Regions from separate parts of the Homo sapiens genome. Here regions 1 and 2 are each linked to region 3. The links are contacts of gene promoters, found by promoter capture Hi-C in blood cells and fetal thymus (Javierre and others, 2016). All regions are on one chromosome and are shown on one strand. The core of a region is centred on a gene start or on the middle of the fragment in contact, and the rest is flanking DNA. Distances in the headings are between cores, read along the strand shown. Region 1 overlaps MYH16 (myosin heavy chain 16). Region 2 has its middle 48 kb from the start of BAIAP2L1. Region 3 holds the start of TMEM130 (transmembrane protein 130).

Region 1 (3,983 bases), core at 757-3,256, 440 kb after region 3:
AAACCCATCTCTACTGAAAATACAAAAATTAGTCAGGCGTGGTGGCGGGCACCTTAATCCCAGCTACTTGGGAGGCTAAGGCAGGAGAATTGCTGGAACCTAGGAGGTGGAGGTTGCAGCGAGCCGAGATCAGACCACTGCACTCCAGCCTGGGCGACAGAGCGAGACTGTCTCTCAAAAAAAAAATTTTTTTTTAATGCACACTTAACCAGAACCAGCCACGTTTATGCCCCGTTTCCCGCCGTGCCTTTGTCACAGGAGGACCAGGCCAACCAGACCTTGGCTCGATACAGGAAGACGGTGCATGAGCTGGATGACGCTGAGGACCGGGCTGGCATGGCAGAGACTGCCCTAAACAAGCTGCGCACCAGACACCGCGTGGCCGGCAAGGGCATCACCTCTGTGGAGATCATCCAGGTGTCCAAGACAGGCACCTCGAAAACCCTTTCTGAGGAGTGAGGCCCTCCGTGTCCTAGGCCACAACTGGTAGGTGTGGACTCCGCTCTGGACGGTCTCGCTCAGAGCGCTCCTTCCCTGCACTGGCTTTGCTGCTAGTATTGGTACTATGTGACCCAGCCATACTCCCCCTGCTCCCCAGCTCCAGTCTTTGTCACACCCAGTCTCATGCAACAGGAACCCCAAAGCTCTTCCCCTCCTTCTTCAGCTGCAAAACTCCTCTAGAGTGTCACAGCCCTCGGGTGGGGTGCTGTTCACCTGTATCACAGGTGCTGGCCGACCTGATGTTCCCCCATCTGCACAGAAGGGCGGTTCCCAAGTGTGATGCCACTTGACACTAGCCTTGGAACCTAGGTGCTTAGTACAGTCACAGGGACGTCCACAAGCTTATGGCAATGTGTGTTATCTTTCGTGTCCCCCACAATATCATTTTTCACTGGAGATTTCATCAATCCTGGTTGAATTCAGGTCTCTAACACTAAGAAAATGATAATTATCATCACAGCTACCATTTCTTGAACACTGAGTGCAGGTGGGATTTTAAGGAAACAATTTAAAGTAGTCTTTATTCCCCTTAATTCAGAACTAATCAAGGACAAAAAATATTGGAGATAAATATATAAAAGTTAAAATAGGCTGGGCACAGTGGCTTGTGCCTGTAAATCCTAGTACTTTCAGAGGCCAAGGGGGAAAATGGTTTAAGCCCGGGAGTTCAAGACCAGCCTGGGCAACACAGTGAAACCCTGTCTCTACAAAAATAAAAAAAAATTATCCAGGCATGGTGGTGCACACCTGTAGTCCCAGTTACTCAGGAGGCTGAGATAGGAGGATCCCTTGAGCCCAGGAGTCTGAGGTTACAATGATCTAGCATTCCAGCCTGGGCAACACAGTGAGGCCCCATCTCAAAGAAAAAAAAGTCAAAATACTAGTTTTATTTATTTATTTGAGAGTCTCACTCTGTCACCAGGCTGGAGTGCAGTGGTGGGATTTCGGCTCACTGCAACCTCCGCCTCCCAGGTTCAAGCAGTTCTCCCAAGTAGCTAGGACTACAGGTGCACACCACCATGCCCAGCTAATTTTTGTATTTTTAGTAGAGACGGGGTTTCACCATGTTGGCCAGGATGGTCTCAGTCTCTTGACCTTGTGATCCACCTGCCTCAGCCTCCCAAAGTGCTGGGATTACAGGCATGAGCCACCATGCCTGACCCAAATACCAGTTTTAATATGCCATAATTCTAGATTGAGGATGGGGCTTTAATGTGTGTCCACCATAGGCATCCTCATACTTTGCCTCAAAATTAAAGATACCTGAAACCCCAACTCTACTAAAAATACAAAATTAGCCAGGCGTGATGGCACACGCCTGTAATCCCAGCTGCTCGGGAGGCTGAGGCACTAGAATTGCTTGAACCCAGGAGGCACGAGTTGCAGTGAGCCAAGATCACGCCACTGCACTCCAGCCTGGGTGACAGAGCGAGGCTCTGTCTAAAAAAAAAAAAAAAAAAAAAAAAAAACCAGAACTGAACAAATGCAGGCTTGATCCCCGGGGAGTAGCCACTATTCCTAGGAGAGGAACAATCAGAACCCATCATCCCTGGGAGTAGATCTAAAAGGAGAGATTAGATGGGGCTCAGCTCTGCCTTCCTGGTTCCTTATTCCAAAAACAAGATCAATCACTCCTTTTCCCATGGACAGAAGCAAAAGGAAAATGAGGGGTAAGGCACAGAATGTGATTCTGGAGGAGTGGATCCCAAAACATGGTCCCGGGACCAGCAGCATCAGTGTCACCTACGACATTCTTAGAAGTGCCTATTCTTAGGCCTGGCTCCAGACCTATGCATCAGCAGCTCTGGGGGTGGGCCCAGCATCTGTGATTTAGCAAGCCCTCCAGGTGACTCAGATGTGTGACTGAGTTTGAGAACCACCCAGATACATGGAGCCAGGGTGTGGAGGTTTCTCCTTTAACAAGAGCCAAGTGCTAAGAAAGAAAAGGCAACTGAAAGGGCTGGGCGCAGTGTCTCACGCCTCTAATCCCAACACTTTGGGAGGCCAAGGTGGGAGGATCACTTGAGGCCAGAAGTTCGAGACCAGCCTGGGCAACATAGCAAGACCCTATCTCTACAAAAAAATGTAAAAAATGAGCGTGGTGGTGGCTAAGTGCATGGAAAATGCTTTTCACTCTCTTTTCTACCCTACAAGGTAGGTATAAATATCCCCGTTTGTCAGGTGAGGAAAATGAGCTTGGAGAAGTTTGGTGACTTGCTCATGGTCACACACACCCTGTGCTATGAAAAGGCAAGTTATCTTTTATTTGAAGTTACTGTGGAGATTGATATGGTTGCCCTCTATGTGGGATTAATCAGGGCAGCAAAAAATCAAAGACTGGTTCGCTTTGGGAGGTGGGGTGGGGCTGAACCCTAAGCACCGACCTCCGTGGCTTCTGGGAATTATATCTGGCCTCACTGAATCAACAGCTTGTTGAATCAGCCCCTAGTGAGGAGGGTAAGTTTCCCTGCTCAGTTACGATTCGCTATCTTTCAGTAATGGTGGTCAGTTTGGGTTTTGGCCAAAAGCGATAACCCCATTGAACTTTGATGTGAAGCTGAGCTTTATCTGACCGTTTGCTTAGGGAGGAGATAAAATATGGGGCACAGAATCTTTTTCTGAATTCTCTAACCCTGAAATAATGGTTAGGTCAGGAAGTTAAGGAAATCAGAAGCTTGTCTCTGCATTAATGTGTTTTACCTTTCAGGCAAAAACCTGAAAGGGATCCCTCCCAGTGAGCTCTGACCTAGGTGGGAACTACTCATGAGGCTTCCTGTACACCCAGACTCAGAAGGCAGTTCAGCTCCTTCCACTAGGAGTCTTAGGCTCCAGGATTAGACATCCTTTAAAGCAGGTCCCCTGCCCTGGTTTGGCTGGACCTGGTACAATTGCTCTGTCACAGCAAGGATCTACTTCCATGCCATCAGGCTGCTATCCTGCCACCGGCACCCAGAGGTGATGAGGCTGTGCCTCTGGGGTCTACTCTCCATGTCCTGATCCATCCATTTTGTTTTTATTTAATAAGCCAGGCATGATGGCAGGTCCTTGTAATCCCAGCTACTCAGGAGGTTGAGGCAGGAGAATTGCTTGAACCTGTGAGGCAGAGGTTGCAGTGAGCCGAGATTGTGCCACTCCAGCCTGGGCAACAAGAGTGAGAGTCCGTCTCCAGAAAAATAAAAAAATAAAAAAAAACTGAAAAGAAAAAAATTAAAAACATAAATATAAAATATTTTAACAGAAATTTAAGAGAATAAATAAAACCGATCCTTCACCAGGCAGAGGAGAGAAGGGAATTCCAGACAGAAGGCCCAACACACACAAAAGTGCAAAGGTGGGATGTGCACAAGGGCACAGGCTGGCTGGAGTAGATGGGCTCAGAGAGCTGCAGCGCGGTGGGGGATGAAGCTAGCAGGGTAGGGTAGGCAGGGGTGAGGCTGTGAATGGCTCTACTGGGTGCAAGTATTCCATAAACTCCATAAGGA
Region 2 (3,877 bases), core at 689-3,188, 420 kb before region 3:
TATTTTTTTTTTGTAGAGATGGGGTCTCGCTCTGTTGCCCAGGCTGGTCTTTTGGAGCAGGGGGCTCCCTGTGTTCATTTTTTACTGAGCCCCAGAAGTTACACAGGCAGTTCTGCTGAAGGTCAGGGCTGGTGGGTAACGTCAGGGTGGTCGTGGAAGAGGATGTGAGAAATGGGTGAATTCAGGACTTTTTGGCTAGAATCTGTAAGACTGGCTGATGTTTTGGATTTGGGTGGGAGGATGCAGGGAAGAGGGAGGAATCACTCCTGAATGTGGGGCTGGGACCTGGGGAATGAGTACCCTTTTTCCAGATGGGAAATATCGGGTAAACAAGTCAAGTGGATTTTGGAGTGGGCAGATGGGGTCAAGAATTTCAGTTTGGTGAAAATAAACTTCCTATCAAATTTTATAAAATAGGGACGGGATATTACATTTAAAAAATTGCTGACCAGCCAGGCATGGTGGCTCATGCCTGTAATCCCAACACTTTGGAAAGCCAAGGTGGGAGGATCGTTTGAGGCCAGGAGTTTGAGACCAGCCTGGGCAATATAGCAAGACCCCATCTCTACAAAAAATTTTAAAAAATTAGCTGAGCATGGTGGTGTGCACCTGTAGTCCCAGCTACCTGGAAGGCTGAAGCTGGGGACGATTGCTTGAGCCCAGGAGGTAGGGGTTGCAGCGAGCTATGGTTGTGCCACTGCACTCCAGTGTGGGTGACAGAGCGAGGCCCTGCCTCCTAAAAAAGAAAAAAAAAATTGGGCCAGGCGCGGTGACTCATGCCTGTAATCCTAGCACTTCGGAAGGCCAAGGCGGGCAGATCACCTGAGGTCAGGAGTTTGAAACCTGCCTGGCTAACGTGGTGAAACCCCATCTCTGCTAAAAATACAAAAACATTAGCTGGGCATGGGAGCAGGCACCTGTAATCCCAGCTACCTGGGAGGCTGAGGCAGGAGAATTGCTTGAACCTGGGAGGTGGAGGTTGCAGTGAGCTGAGATTGCACTACTGCACTCCAGCCTGGGTGACAGAGTGAGACTCCGGCTCAAAAAAAAAAAAAAAAGAAAAAGAAAAAGAAAAAAGAAAATTGGTGACCCAATATTGTACTATAGTTTTGCAAGATGCTACCACTGGGGGAAACCAGGTAAGGGAGTTCAAGAGCTCTCTCTGTATTATTTCTTACAACCGCATGTGAATCTACAATCATCTGAAAATGAAAAGTTTAATTAAAAAAAATTGGTGACCCAGAAAATCAGGACGTGAATGGAGCAATAGGCAGCTTGGGGCAGGTGTTACTCATTTTTATTCATCAGTTCCTAAATCTGCAAGGAGTTTGGGGGCAGCTCATAGAGGCAGACACAGCCAGGAACAGTGAAGGGGCTGTTCGTGGTGTCTGAGGGGATGGTGGCAGCGGCTGTGGCTCCTGAGCGTCTGTCCTTCCTGGTGGTCTGGTGTTGAGGGCTGATGGGGTGGACAGCAGCTCATCTCTTGGAGGTCCTGCCAAGTAAAGGGGTGAACTTGGTTCTAGAAGACAATGTCCTTGGCTCTGAGGACGCTGACTTCAGCACTCACCTCCTCTAGCAATTTCAGGTCACTTGGGCAGTGGGACAGACACAGGGGCAGGAAACTATGGGTAGGAGAGGAGGCCAGGATAAGCCCGGTTGGTGTTCACTTACAAGCTTTCCTTCGCTAGAGTCAGGGCTCCCGGTGGGGAGAGGAACATTTCATCTTAAGATATTTGCAGATTTATTCACGGAACTTCCCACATATCTGGATGAGGATATACGACTTGCCCCCTGGAGGAAAGAGTTAAATGAATCGCTAAAGCACAAAATGTTCCTGTAAAATTGCTTCTATATTTTATTAGACGCAGATGAGCATGAATTATTGTGAAGCCAGCAGGGGAGTTTGCAAATTTGGTTCTTGCCTTTTTCCATCAACAACCCCCAATCACCTAGATGGTGATGGAAGGACTGGTTGAGGGATGCTGGTTTGGGGTAGGACCCTTGAATAAAGAGCTCATTCACTTGTTAATTCATCCAGCCATCAGAGGTTTATGGGGCACCTACTGTATGTCAGGGAAAGCAAGCACAATTACAGCTTGCAGGTATCATTCTTGTTAATCTACCTTCCAACGACACCACCAAGGTCCTTCTGAGATGCGCCATTTTTGTTTCACGGTTATGTTGAGGATGGCATTTGGGGGAGGAAGCTTCCTTTTGAGCCTCTCAGAGTGCCACTCTTATCTGTGCCATAGAAAAGAAGTCACATTTCACCTACCCCTCCACGGTCAGAAATGCAAATTAACATGAAATTCCACTTTCCAACAATCTCCCGATTTGCATCAAGGTGTAAAACTCCTTGGGAGGAAAATGGACACAGTTGTGCAAAATTGGTTTTCTAGCTGAATAGATCTGATTAGTTTCTTACACTCGGTGTGGCTCTGTCAATTTATTTTTTCTTTTCTTTTTTATTTTATTTTATTTATTTATTTATTTATTTTTTGAGAGTCTCACTCTGACCCTCAGGCTGGAGTGCAGTGACATGATCTCAGCTCACTGCAACCTCTGCCCCTAGGTTCAAGTGATTCTGCTGCCTCAGCCTCCCGAGTAGCTCGGATTATAGGCACGTGCCACCACACCCGGCTAATTTTTGCATTTTTAGTAGAGACGGGGTTTTACAATGTTGGCCAGGCTGGTCTTGAACTCCTGAGCTCAGATGATCCACCTGCCTCGGCCTCCCAAAGGGCTGGGATTACAGGCGTGAGCCACCATGCCCAGCCAAAAATTTTTTTAAAAAGAAAAAATAGTGGCTGGGCATGGTGGCTCATGCCTGTAATCCCAGCCCTTTGGGAGACAGAGGTGGGAGGACTGATTGAGGCCAGGAGTTTGAGACCAGCCTGGGCAATATAGTGACACCCCATCTCTATAACAAATAAAAAATTAGCCAGGTGTGGTAGTGCGTGCCTGTAGTCCCAGCTACCTGGGAGGCCGAGGCAGCAGGGTCACTTGAGCCTGGAGTTCAAGACCAGCCTAGGCAACATAATAAGACCCCATCCCTGGAAAAATTACAAAAATTAGCCAGATGTGATGGCATGAGCCTGTAGTCCAAGCTATTCAGGAGGCTGAGGTGGGAGGATCACTTGAGCACAGGAGGTTGAGGCTGCAGTGAGCCATGATAGCACTGCTGCCCTTCAATTTAGGAAACAGAGCAAGACTCTGTCTCAAACAAAATTTATTTATTTATTTTTGAGACGGAATCTCACTCTGTTGACCAGGCGGGAGTGCAGTGGCACAATCTTGGCTCACTGCAACCTCCGCCTCCCAAGTTCAAGCGATTCTCCTGTCTCAGCCTCCACAGTAGCTGAAATTACAGACATGTGCCACCATGCCTGGCTAAGTTTTGTATTTTTAGTAGAGGCAGGGTTTCACCATGTTGGCCAGGCTGGTCTCAAACTCCTGACCCCAGGTGATCTGCCAGCCTTGGCCTCCCAAAGTGCTAGGATTACAGGCGTGAGCCACAGAACCCAGCCAAAAATTTATTTTTAAGTTTTTTTTCATTTCAGTAGCTTGAGGGGTACAAGTGGGTTTTGGGATGTGGAAGAATTGTATGGTGGTGAAGCCTAGGATTTTAGAGCCTCTGTCACCTGAGTAGTGTACTTTGTATCCAATAAGTAGTTTTTCATCGTCACCCACTACCATCATCCCCTTTCTGAGTCTCCAATGTCCCCACTCTGCATGTCTTTGCATACCCATAGCTTAGCTCCCACTTATTGGTGAGTACATGCAGTATTTGGTTTTCTGTTCCTGAGTTACTTCACTAAGGATAATGGCCTCCAGTTTCATCCAAGTTGCTGGAAAAGACATTCTTTCTTTCTTTCTT
Region 3 (4,168 bases), core at 1,056-3,555:
TCATGGGAGCCCGCCGACTCCCCCACCACCACCTGCCAGCTCCAAGGACACTTTTTCTCAGTCTGTTTTTTCAAAATCAGGTGTGTCACAGCCCCTGGGTGATGCTGCCCCTGTTCCTCAGGGGTCTCAGGGATGGCCAGGACATCCAGGGTGGAAATGGACCAGGAAGCCTTTGCCAAATGTGGCTGAAGGAACCAATCACAGGGCCTGGTGCTCTACCCACCAAATTCATCTTTCCAGGCCGGCGTGGTGGCTCACACCTGTAATCCCAGCACTTTGGGAGGCTGAGACAGGTGGATCACCTGAGGCCAGAGGTTCGAGACCAGCCTGGCCAACATGGCGAAGCCCTATCTCTACTAAAAATACAAAAATTAGCCAGGTGTGGTGGCAGGCGCCTGTAATCCCAGCTACTTGGGAGGCTGAGGCAGGAGAATTTCTTGAACCCAGAAGGTGGAGGTTGCAGTGAGCCAAGATTGTGCCACTGCACTCCAGCCTGGGTGACAGAGCAAGACTGCATCTCAAACAAACAAATTCATCTTTCCATGTTTGGGAGTCCATGTGACATGGAGTTGGGGTATGGAGCAGCCAAGGCAGAGGTTTAGGGGACTCCAAGGGCCCCCCAAGTCACCCAGAGCTCAAGGGGCAAAAGCAAAAAGAGATGGGGCACTCACCCCAAAGCTTGGCCCATGGAAGAAACACCTACCTTTTCCAGCAACACAGCATGTGCAGCCCTGAACATTCTAGAAAATGGCTACACCAGTCCTTTCACACAGAATATGCAGACTACCCAAAACACTTCCAAAGAGTACCTCTAAAGTCTGGATAACACAACCCAGAATTAATTAATAGTCCAGTACATGGACTTCTGACTTACAAATCCCTGATTCATGGACTCCAGAAAGGGGAAGGGTAGAAAAGTCTCCCCGACGGGTGAGGGAGAAGATGTTTCCCAACTCCACTCTTAGCCACTGTGATTTTGACCACATCAAGGGTGCAATTGGCTAGAATGGGAACCACACATGATTTCCAAATAATTAATTCACTTTTGTTATTATTTTCTTTTTCTTTTGCAATTTAGGACACATTGAAAATCTCTGACACAAATCAACCTGATGGACAAGAGACCCCTTTCCTGTATTTCCAGGAGGAAATAGGTAATCTTGTCCAAGTGCAATTCCCATAAAATTCGTCTAATTCATCCCTGAGTTGCAGGTTTTCTTTGACCTCATGGTTTTTCTTTCACAAATTTTCATTAGATCCCTTGCTCTCTCTCTCCACCGCTCTTTTATGAGGGGGGAGGGGGTGAAAAGTGGTGGATAGTATTCAACCTTCTTAGCTGCCCACGTCCCATCTGTCCCTCGAATAGTCTTAAATCTGGGTCCTTTTATGGTTCCCAAAATGTGGCAGAGAGGTGGGTGCTGGCTTTCTGGCGGTGGGGAAGTGGGGGCAGTAGACACACAACCCTGCTTCCCCCACTCCCCCACCCACACACACACCCCAGGAACCTGTCAGCTCCGGGTCCATTTTGGAAATCACCACCAGAGAGGAAATGGCAGCCTGGCCTCCTGGGCTCTAAATTCGCATCTCCCCAAAGCCAGCACCAACACGGTGGGAAACCCCTCTAGATGAGGCGACATTTTAAGGCAAAAACGTTGCCCATCCCGTGCTCCCTGGGGGACTGGGGAATTGTGGCGCGATGACGGACCCTGGCGCATCCCCGCCTCCCTGCCTCGTCCTCCCCTCCCTTAGCGGGTGCATGGTCCCCAGGCATCGACGGATGCGCCGGCCACCCCCGCGCGGTTTCCAGGGCAGGGCCAGCCTGGGGGGGTGGAAGCAGGAATCCAGGGGGTGCGGGGAGCCCCCTCCAGTGCCCAGGCGACTTTGGGGAACAAGGATGAAAGGAGAGGGGAAAGGGCGCTGCAGTGGCCTCAGCCGAGGAGGGAGATGCGCGCAGGGCGCACGGTGCCACCTCCGCAATCCCTGCTCCCGGGCCCACTCGCCCGCTGAGACGGTTCCAGGCCCCGGGCGGGCTGCGGCTGCAGGGAGGCCGGATTGCCCAGCGCCTTACCTGCGGCCACCCCTGCCGGGGCCCAGGGCAGGAGGCAGGCAAGCCAGAGGATGCGGCCGAGGCGCGACCACACTGCCTGGGCCATTGCGGGGCCCGGAGCGGGAGAAGCGTGGGGCGGACGCGGAGGGAATGCAGCTGGAGCTCGAGAACTGCGGCGGTCGCTCCTCCGGGCGCGCAGCGCGGGCGGTGCGGGGAGGTGCGGGCGCCGTGCTCGCTCGTCCTCGCCGGGGGACGCTCTGTCGCTGCGCGCCGCCGCCGCCGCCCACAGCCCGCTGCGCGACCCCGGCCCACGTCAGCCGCGCCGCGCGCCCTCCTCCTCCTCCCGCCGCCCCTTGCTCCCGCGTCCCTCTCCACGGCCGCGTCCTCCCTCTCCGGGTCTCTTCCCACGGCCGCGCCCCCTGCCCTCCTGGAGTCCACGATCGCCCCTCCCAGCTTGCTTCCCCTCTAGGGGTTCCAGAGCTCCCTTCCTGCGCCCTGGCTCCTCCCCGCATCCCTCCCCACCCCAAATCCACCCCCGGCCGCATCCTTCCCCTCCACTACCCGAAACCACGCCCCCCGCACCCGCATTTTTCCCTTCCCCCGAGCCCCTCCCCGCCCTGGATCCGATGCCGCCGGCTCTGACTCAGCGTCCCCAGGGGCGTGCGCTGCGCTGCAAGCCGCCTGCAGGTCCCTTGGGGCTCTCCTCCAGGTGCCTTCTCTCTGCACGCTCGTGGCTCCGAGATGCTACTCCTCATTCAAGAACTGTTGAGAGCTTAAGGTGCGCCAGGCGTTGGGCGAAAGGCCTCGAAATTCCTCTTGCTGCTGCTGCTGCTGCTGCTTCCTCTTTTCTTTTTTTTTTTTTTTTAATCTTGAGACAGAGTCTCGCTCTGTCCCAGAATGGCGCGATCTCGGCTCACTGCAACCTCCGCCTCCCGGGTTCAAGCGATTCTCCTGCCTCAGCCTCCCTAGTAAGATGGGATTACAGGTGCCCGCCACCAGGCCTGGCTAATTTTTGTATTTTTAGTAGAGACGGGGTTTCACCATGTTGGCCAGGTTGGTCTCAAACTCCTGGCCTCAAGTGATCCTCTCGCCTCAGCCTCCCAAAATGTTGGGATTACAGGTGTAAGCCACTGTGCCCAGCCTCTTGCCCCTTCTTGATAGAGGGGCCTGAGCACCCGGCCCCTGCCGTGGGCTTGATGTCATCCCCCGGTTTACCCTCTCACAGCTGCTGTTAAGATGGGGCTCCTGCTCGTATCTGGGCCCAGGGCAACTTCTTTGTCACTGAGGGCCTTGTGGGAGTCAGGCTACTGCGGTGAGGGGTGACCAGCCTACACAGTTACTGCCATTTGCCTTAGAGGAGCAGGGCTGGGCTCTCCTAGAAGCTGGAGGGGCCTGGCTGGCCTTAAACGCTGGAAGCCCGGTGGGTTCTGGTCCCAGCTATGCTTCCGCTTTGCTACGGCTACCTGGGCGAGGGATCCTCCCACACAGTGAGGGCCTTTGACCTCCTCTCTGGCCCGTGGAGCACGGATGGACCATCACTGCACCACCCAGTGCATTGACATCAAGGCGTCTAAAGCAGGGGTCTCCAAGCCCCTGGCCGCCAGTACCAGTCCATAGCCTGTTAGGAACTGGCTGCACAGCAGGAGGTGAGCAGGGCCTGTGAGCCACGCTGAGCTCCACCTCCTGGCAGATCAGCAGGGCATTAGATTCTCATAGGAGCGCAAACCCTACTGTGAACTGCTCACGTGAGGGATCAAGGTTGCGTGCTCCTTATGAGAATCTAATGCCTGATGTTCTGTCACTGTTTCCCATCATCCCCAGATGGGACCATCTAGTTGCAAGAAAGCAAGCTCAGGGCTCCCACTGATTCTACATGATGGTGAGTATGTAATCATAATAGAAATAAAGTATACAATAAAAGTAATGCGCTTGAATCATCCCGAAACCATCCCTCCAACCCCTCATTCGTGGAAACATTGTCTTTGGTGCCAAAAAGGTTGGGGACTACTGGTCTAAAGGGCCCCTGGCTCTGGGACAGCTGTGAGCTTCCCTAAGAATGGGCCCCACTGGCCCCACTGCTATGTTCAGGGAATGGAGGGAGAATAGATTTGAGTGAGCCCC

Evidence for each region. Contacts are between HindIII fragments. The CHiCAGO score rates a contact against its expected background, and 5 or more counts as called.
Region 1: a fragment that was not itself captured here is called in contact with the fragment with the promoter of TMEM130 in region 3 in 3 of 17 cell types (fetal thymus, megakaryocytes and monocytes); the score reaches 6.2 in fetal thymus.
Region 2: a contact is called between a fragment that was not itself captured here and the fragment with the promoter of TMEM130 in region 3, in 10 of 17 cell types (naive B cells, total B cells, endothelial precursors and 7 more). The highest score is 10.9, in naive B cells.

Annotation. Positions count from the first base shown.
Region 1 is chr7:99,306,351-99,310,333 of GRCh38, forward strand. MYH16 (myosin heavy chain 16) reads left to right here. Exons shown (of 24, transcript NM_001431356.1): 23 at 259-486. The coding sequence ends at 459. All of the region lies in intron 2 of LOC105375421 (a long non-coding RNA gene), which reads right to left. Among named protein-coding and RNA genes, the nearest start is that of ARPC1A, 18 kb to the right of the region's middle. The HindIII fragment of the contact is 2,333 bases long and covers 841-3,173 here.
Region 2 is chr7:98,447,149-98,451,025 of GRCh38, forward strand. No RefSeq gene overlaps it. Among named protein-coding and RNA genes, the nearest start is that of BAIAP2L1, 48 kb to the left of the region's middle. The HindIII fragment of the contact is 533 bases long and covers 1,673-2,205 here.
Region 3 is chr7:98,867,709-98,871,876 of GRCh38, forward strand. It overlaps TMEM130 (transmembrane protein 130), which reads right to left and starts at 2,306. Exons shown (of 8, transcript NM_152913.3): 1 at 2,069-2,306. The coding sequence starts at 2,153. RefSeq lists enhancers at 1,204-1,790, 1,791-2,376. The HindIII fragment of the contact is 4,583 bases long and covers 677-4,168 here.